3 separate regions of the Homo sapiens genome follow, and all the other regions are linked to region 1. The links are contacts of gene promoters, found by promoter capture Hi-C in human tissues and cell types (Jung and others, 2019). All regions are on one chromosome and are shown on one strand. Each heading gives the region's core, a stretch centred on a gene start or on the middle of the fragment in contact. The rest is flanking DNA. Distances are from core to core; before and after follow the strand shown. Region 1 holds the start of ZBTB43 (zinc finger and BTB domain containing 43). Region 2 overlaps MAPKAP1 (MAPK associated protein 1). Region 3 overlaps MAPKAP1 (MAPK associated protein 1).

Region 1 (2,720 bases), core at 132-2,631:
TTAAGTGCTCTCAAACAACATTTGTCCTTTTGTGTGTGGTTTATTTCTCCCGTGGTGCTTTTATAAAGCAAATAATAAATTCCCAATTATTAGGTTTCTTATAATTTAACTGAAAATGCTGACACAATCTCTGAACTAAGCATGCAGTTATCCCAGAAACCCTGCTACTGTTCCAGTAGCCCCAAAGACCTCAGTCTGATCCTTTCTTAGCCTGTAGACAGGCCTGTTAAACAGCTGTAACTCAAAGAGCAGGCTCCAGAGATCCCTGGAGACCATCCTGTGGTGAGTGGATAGAGCGAAGGCATTTGGGAAGCTGTGCAGGCCTGAGAAACCACAGGCGAGAAAAGGAGAGGACTCATCAAGCTGCTCTGGCCCTAAAATGGGCCTCCTGTCTCCCTGACAGGCTCTCCTGCACTCTGACACTTATGTTGGGCGACACCTGTCAGAGTTGAGGCCAAACTGCGGTCGAGTCACTGAGAGTGTCACCAGTGCAGGGAACTTCACGGGGTCATGAGTCACCTTCCATGGCTCAGAGGTCTGGGCAGCCCTGCCCCACCCAAACTCAGGAAAGAGAGACAAGAGGCAAAAACAAAGTTGGCAGAAAGAGAGAAACAGACAGATGGCCAAAAAGCCAGACTGACAGGCCCTGAATTAGAGTAAGGGCTGAGTGGCAGAGACAGGGTGAACAGACACAGAAGCAAGGTGGAGACAGATATAAAACAGGATCCAGATACCCCGACAAAGACAAAGTGGAGAGAAATATCAGGTTGACAGCGACCTAGCTGAAAGACAAAAAGGGCAGGTTACAACAGGTGACAGAGACAGCAACAGGGGATGCTGAATGTTTTACTTAAACAGAAGATCAGCTAAGTCCAGGCGCAGTCTTTCTCCCAGCTCGGCTCGTCAGGCCTCAGGCATTGGTGGCTCGAACCCGAGGTCGTCAAGCCGCGCCCACCCTACGCCCCGAAAGGCCAGCGGACGGACGGGGGCGGGATCTCTAAGCGCTGTGGCCGGCGGAGCTCCGCCGCCGCGAGGGTGACCTTGGGCGAGAAGCTGCCCCAAAGGCCTCGGTATCGCGGTCTGCGCGCCGTGTGGGCAGAAGACTGCGGGATTCGGAGCTGGAGCGCCGGGACCCCAACCTCCCGCGCGGGGCTTTGGTATGCCGGTCCACGGAATGGGCCTGGCGGGGCCAGCGGCGCGAGCGTCGGGGCCTGCTGAGGAGCCCTTAACTCCCCCACCGACTTCTCCTCCCCTACCCTTGCCGCCCGTGGTCCTGGCCACGCAGTACCTGCCAAGGGCTCAGCGCTCACATCCCCCGCCCAAGATATCCTCTCTGCCGCCGGCGCAGGCCTGTTGTAGCCTCAGCTGCCGCAACAGATTCAGCCTGTGCCTTCAGCCCCCGGAAACGCTTCCCGGTCCCGCCCCCCGAAACTGACAGTGCTTCCGGGGGTGCGTCAGAGAGAAAGCGGAGTGCGCATGCGGGACTTACCGTCTGAGCTGGGCGTCGGGAGAGAGCGCGGAGGTAGCGGGCGCCTGCGCAGTACACTCTGGAGCGGGTCAATTTTAGGGACTGACTACGCTGTTGAAAATAGGGGAGCAGATACTGAGTTCTAAACCTTCTTGAAACCTTGGCATAGGCCAGGCGCGGTAGCCCACGTCTGTAATCCCTGCACTTTGGGAGGCCGAGAGGGGATGATCGCTTGAGGCTAGGAGTTCGAGACCATCCTGGCCAACATGGTGAAACCCTGTCTCTACAAAACATACAAAAATTAGCTGAGCGTGGTTGCGCGCGCCTGTAATCCCAGCTACTTGGGAAGCTGAGACAGGAGAATTGCCTGAACCCGTGAGGCAGAGGTTGCAGTGAGCCGAGATCACGCCGCTGCACTCCAGCCTGAGCACAGAGCAAGACTCTTAAACAACAACAACAACAACAACAAAACAAACAAAAACACCTTGACCTTCTCCGTCTCTTCTCTAAACAAACGAACGAAAACCTTGACCTCAGTATGCCTGGCGGAGATTATCTCCAAATCCGTTTCTGCCTTCACAGCACCCATCTCGCTTTTTGGCATGTAGTAGATGCTCAGTAAATGGTCAATGAAAGGACCAGTGCCTTTCCGTGGGCTGCATTGTGCTGGGCACTGGGGTCACACAGATGGTGGGACAGAAACGATCTCTCTAGCCTCCAATTCTCCCACTCCCTCCCAAAACCTCCATACCTCTTCTCGCCCCTTTCTTCCCCACTGCCCCCCCATGTTAGTGTAGAAGAGAGATAGGTCTTTAGCGGTGGGACTCTTACCTTTGGACCCGTTTACAGACCAAGTGCCCTCTTTGTAGAAGAACTAATTTATACCTGAAATCCAGGCAGCTGAAGCGATGTGGTCATAATGCCTTCTGGATTTAGGGTGGATGTTCTCGTGGGGCCTGACATGCCTGTTTGATATTGTCTGTCTCAGTTTAAGCTGATTGGTTTCCCAGCTGTTATGCCTGTCTTGCTTGTTGTTGGGCCCTAGGACACAGGAGTGTAGCTTTCCTAGAGAATTCTACCAAAAAAATTTTTTTTTCTAGAAAACAAAATGAAAGAAAACAAATATGGAAGCACAGAAATGGGAGTGGATGCAGAACAGCTTGTCAAAGATTCTACTTCAAACATGTATGCTCCAGCTCCCCCGCCTTGTGGTTTTGTTTTGTTTTGTTTTGTTTTTTTTTGGAGACGAATT
Region 2 (2,720 bases), core at 86-2,585, 1.2 Mb after region 1:
TGTCGTCCAGGCTGGAGTGCAGTGGCACGATCTCGGCTCATTGCAAGCTCCACCTCCTGGGTTCACGCCATTCTCCTGCCTCAGCCTCCCAAGTAGCTGGGACTACAGGCGCCCACCACCACGCCCGGCTAATTTTTTGTATTTGTTTTAGTAGAGACAGGGTTTCACTTTGTTAGCCAGGATGGTCTCGATCTCCTGACCTCGTGATCTGCCCGCCTTGGCCTCCAAAGTGCTGGGATTACAGGCATAAGCCACCGCGCCTGGCCTTTTTTTTTTTTTTTTTTAAGACACATTTATTCAGCGTCATGATCAGACTGTTACATTTAGCAATCAACAGCATGGGTACAAAAAAGAAATCTACATTAAAATCCTTTGTTGGAATGCTTTACATTTTCCACAGAAGAAAAACTAAAACAACCTGTTATACAATTAGTCACAAATACAGTCCTCGAGTTTTTTGCCCATACACATGAGTATTTGTCTAAAACATGTCTTCTTTGTAGCAGCTAGGCCTTGCCACCACTGTGCTTGGCTGAGTTCACAAATCTGTTGTAACCTGTAGCTTCGCTGTCACTTCTCTGGCTCTCCTCTCCTGTTAAGCTTTGTTTGCTGGCAGTAATTAAAATCTTCTGCCACTGCTGTAGCTACTGCTGCTACTGGAACTGCCATAGCCACCTCGGTTTTGTGGTTTGGGAAAGTACTGGCTTCCACCACCATAGCTGCCAGAGCTTCTGCCTCCAAAGTTTCCTTTCATCATGGGTTCAAAATTTGAAGACTGATTGTTGTAATTGCCAGAATCATTGTAGCTTCCACCACCCTCCAAAATTGCTTCCATCAGTACCAAATCCATTATAGCCATCCCTACTGCCACCATATCCACCACCACCATGGTTGCCACCAAAGGCACCACAACCACTGAAGTTTCCTCCATGACCAAAGTTGTCATTCCTACCGAAGTCACCTTCACGACCACCACCAAAGTTTCCAGAACCACTTCGACCTCTTTCGCTGGATGAAGTATTAGCCATCTCTTGCTTTGACAGAGCTTTCCTAACTTCACAATTGTGGCCATTCACAGTATGGTGTTTTTGAATGACAGTCTTATCCACGGAGTCGTGGCCATCAAAGGTTACAAAGGCAAGTCCCCTTTTCTTGCCACTGCCTCGGTCAGTCGTGATTTCAATCACTTCAGTTTTTCCACGCTGTTCAAAATAATCTCGCAGGTGATGTTCTTCAGTGTCTTCTTTAATGCCACCAACAAATATCTTTTTCACAGTTAAGTGGGCACCTGGTCTTTGAGAATCTTCTCTTGAGACAGCTCTCTTTGGTTCCACAACTCCGATCCACCTTGTGTGGCCTTGCATTCATGGCTGCATCCACCTCCTCCACAGTGGCATAGGTGACAAACCCAAAACCCCCGGAACGCTTGGTGTTGGAATCTTTCATTACCACACAGTCTGGGAGCGTTCCCCATTGCTCACAATGGCTCCTCTTGCTCTCATTGGTTGTTTCAAAGCTCAACCCTCCAATGAAGAGATTCCTTAGCTGTTCCGGCTCTTTAGGAGACTCTGACTTAGGACGGCAGGGAGAAGAGAGACTTTAACGATGCTTCCTTGGCGTGTCCACAGGCAGAAAGGAGTAAGCTGACAAACATAGCATGATATTTCTTAATTCAAGATTATTTTGAACTGAATCCCATCTGTATTCTTATTGCTTCTCCTACTTTGGAAACTATCAGGTATATGATTTTGAAATTAATTTTATGATAAGCAGCTAATGTATATTATTTTAATTAATAGGATCAGCTGAGAAAAGCTGCTCTAGATAATGTTTTAATTCATCAGCATGTTCAAATACATACATTTCAATTCTATATCTGTTCACATTCTGTGTATTAGAAGTTATTTTAGATTTTTAAGTTTACCCATTTTATGAGCTAATTATTAATTGGGTAACCTTTGGTTCATAGTATTGATATTTCATAATTGGCCTAGAGACACTTTTTAAAAGACTGAGCTTTTCCAGTATATATCACAAGTTACAAAACATTCATAGTCTTTGACTTAGTAATCTACTTCTAGAAATATTTTCACATTTATATAGGAAAATGTTTATGAGATTATTTATAATAATGGAATATTGTAAACAGCTTCCATTTCTAAAAATGGGAGAATAGGTGGTACCACCATATGCTATAATATAATGCAAGTGTTTAAATCATGTGTTAAAAGAATATTAATCATTTATTCCATCAGTATGTGTAAGTAACTATGTCGGGCCCTTTGTTAGGTGCTGGGGATATTTCAGAGAGGAAAGAGTGTTCCTGAAGAACAGGGGCTGGGAAGTAGAAAAGGTATAGCTGCTCTACCTGGGATAGAGAATTGGTAGGTCCGGTGGGTCCATTCTGAAAGAGAGTCTGAGGAGTCCTTTTGATTTAGCCAGCTAGCATGAAACCCCTGCTGTGTTCTAGGCTCTAAGAGAATACAAAATGGATGAGGCTATTTTTCCCTTTATGTAATTCACAGCTGAATGAGAGAGTGTGGGGAAGGAGGTGGTGAGGGTAGTTACAGAAAAAAGTGAAACTGTAAGTCTGTGCAAATCAAATTGTTAGGGGAGGAGAGAAGAGGGAATTTATTTCGTCTTCTACCTTCTTGGAAGAGGTGATATTTGAATTGAAGGACAGAAGAAGAGCTATGTTTCTTGATCAGTGACTTTGTGGC
Region 3 (2,720 bases), core at 123-2,622, 1.2 Mb after region 1:
AGTATTTTAAATGTGTAAGAATTACCCCTTGGCAGAGACTTACAGACTTTTAAAAAGATTTATTTTATTTTGAGATAGGGTCTCTGTTGCCCAGGCTGGAGTGCAGTGGCATGATCATGGCTCACTGTGGCTTAGGTCTCCCAGGCTCAAGCAATCTTTCCAACTCAGTCTCAGTAGTAGCTAGGACGCTAGGCACTTGCCACCACGCCTGGCTAATTAAAAAAAAATTTTGTAGCAACAGGATCTCCTTTTGTTGCCTCCGCTGGTCTCAGATTCCAAGGCTTAAGCGATCCTTCTGTCTCATCCTCTCAAGTTCTGAGATTACAGGCATGTGCCATTGTGCCCGATCTACAAACATTTTGGCCATGAATCATATGTAATAAGAAATACATTTTGGGGTATAACATGAAAGTTTTGATCTATGCATACATTGTGGAATGATTACATTAATTTAATTAAAATATCTGTCACTTCACACACACACAAATAGAAACACATAACATGCATATTAAGTGCACATATAGATAAATGATATATGGAAACTATTTTCATAGAAAAATACTTAACCTTTACTAAGTACAAATGCATGCTATTTTTTATTCTAATCAATTCTATTTTATTTAATTTTAAAAGAAAAGATTGGTTGAAATTGGCTAAATTGATTTCCTAGCCCTCAGGACCATGGTTTGAAAACTTTGTTAGGGAATACATGCAGATGGACTTACAGGGTCATGGGATCTATGTGCAGCTTCAGCTTATAGATAATGCCAAACTGTCTTACAAAGTGGTTATTCCCATGTGTGCCCCTCCAGCAGTGCGTCAGTGTTGTGCTCCCACATCAGACTTAGTTTTTTCTAGTCTTATGGGTGTGAAATTGTATCTCATTATGATTTTCATTTGCATTTCTCAGAATATAATTGAAATTGAACATCTTTTTGTGTGTTTATTGGTTATTCATGTTTCCTCTTCTGTGTGAACTACTTGTTCTAATCTTTTTTCTATTTTAATCAATTTCTTCCTGATTTGAAGAAGAAATTTGAATGTATGTTTGGATACTAACCATTTTTATGTATTGGGTAGCAACTGTTGTAGATTCTCCTGGTTTGTGACTTGTCTTCATTCTCTTTTTGGTGCTTTTTAATGAACAGAAATTCTTGTTTTTAATGTATTGAATTATCAGTCTTTTGCTTCATTATTGCTTTTTGTGTTCTAAGAAATCTTTACCCTCAAGATTATAAAGTTATTTTCCCAAATTGTATTTAAAGTTTTTATAGTTAAATAATTAATCCATCTGGAACTGATTTTTTGCATGTGTGGTAGTGAGGTAGAGGTCTGATTTCTGTTTTTTTCTGTGTGGTTAATCAGTTGTTGTGGCATTATTTATTGAGTCCCACCTTTCCCCATTGGTTTGTCATGCTCGCTTGGTCATATATCAAATTTCCCTATGTTTGTGCTGCTCTTCCTGGACTTTTCTGTTTCAATTGTTTATTTGGTTTTTCCTGTGCTAATATCACACTATTTTAATTACTTTAAATGTAAAGCAATTTCTGGTAACTGATAAATCATGCTCCTTCAACCTCCTTTTCTCTTTTCTTTTCTTTTTTTTTTTTTTCTGAGACGGAGTCCCACTCTGTTGCCCAGGCTGGAGTGCAGCAGCGTGATCTTGGCTCACTGCAACATCCGCCTCTGCAACATCAAGTGATTCTCGTGCCTCAGCCTCCTGAGTAGCTGGGATTACAGGCATGCACCACTACACCTGGCTAATTTTTGTATTTTTAGTAGAGATGGGGTTTCGCCATGTTGGCCAGGCTGATCTTGAACTCCTGACCTCAAGTTATCCACTCACCTTGGCCTCCCAGAGTGCTGGGATTACAGACATGAACCACTGTGCCAGGCCTCAACCTCCTTTTTGTTATTTGTGAGTGTCTTGTATATTCTTAACCTATTGCCCTGCTACACAATGGCTGATTTTTTTTTTTTTTTTTTTTTGTATTTTTAGTAGAGGTGGGGTTTTGCCATGTTGGCCAGGCTGGTCTTGAACTCCTGACCTCAGGTGATCCACCCACCTCGGCCTTCCAAAGTGCTGGGATTACAGGTGTGAACCACCATGCCCAGCCCCTTCCATATATACATTTTTAAAATCACTTGTCAAGTTAAAAAAAATTCCTGAGATTTTGATTAGAGTTGGATTAAATTTGTAGATCAATTTGGGAGAATTGGCATCTTTACCATTTTGAACATGATATATCATTTAAGTGACCTATAATATCTTTAGTAAAATTTTATCATTTTCTCCATGGAAGTCATATATATATATAGTTTGTCATTGTTGTTAGATTGATTCACATATACCTATTATTAAATATATTTTTAAATTCTACTTTCAAGATTTTATTTAAATTATAGTGTCTTCCGGTTTGTTGCTGGTATATAGAAATGTAGTTGATTTCTTTGACATTGATTTAATGTCAGTAACCTTAATAAACTCCTATAACTTCCATTAACTTATACCTTTTTTGGTTTTCTGTGTAGTTGGTCATTTGCAAATAATGATAGTTTTATTTCTAATCCTTATACTTTATTTTTCTTGCTTTACAGAGCTGAAAATTTAAAAAATTCTTTTTATTGCTTCACAATACCATGTTGAAAAGAAATTGTCTTGCTTCTGATATCAAAGGAAATGTTTCCAATATTTCACCATTTAGGATATTTCCTATTTT

The links. The method cuts DNA at HindIII sites, captures the fragments that hold promoters and counts their contacts. A contact is called where the count stands out against the background at its distance.
Region 2: a fragment that was not itself captured here is called in contact with the fragment with the promoter of ZBTB43 in region 1 in 1 of the 25 tissues and cell types used here (dorsolateral prefrontal cortex).
Region 3: a fragment that was not itself captured here is called in contact with the fragment with the promoter of ZBTB43 in region 1 in 1 of the 25 tissues and cell types used here (dorsolateral prefrontal cortex).

What each region holds. Positions count from the first base shown.
Region 1 is chr9:126,803,701-126,806,420 of GRCh38, reverse strand. ZBTB43 (zinc finger and BTB domain containing 43) reads right to left here and starts at 1,381. Exons shown (of 3, transcript NM_014007.4): 1 at 1,289-1,381. RefSeq lists enhancers at 207-356, 507-616, 1,027-1,086, 1,154-1,655 and a silencer at 1,717-1,766. The HindIII fragment of the contact is 16,594 bases long and covers 1-2,720 here.
Region 2 is chr9:125,594,528-125,597,247 of GRCh38, reverse strand. The region is part of intron 4 of MAPKAP1 (MAPK associated protein 1); the gene reads left to right. It also overlaps the pseudogene HNRNPA1P15. Among named protein-coding and RNA genes, the nearest start is that of MAPKAP1, 110 kb to the left of the region's middle. The HindIII fragment of the contact is 3,866 bases long and covers 1-2,720 here.
Region 3 is chr9:125,614,808-125,617,527 of GRCh38, reverse strand. All of the region lies in intron 4 of MAPKAP1 (MAPK associated protein 1), which reads left to right. Among named protein-coding and RNA genes, the nearest start is that of MAPKAP1, 91 kb to the left of the region's middle. The HindIII fragment of the contact is 4,194 bases long and covers 1-2,720 here.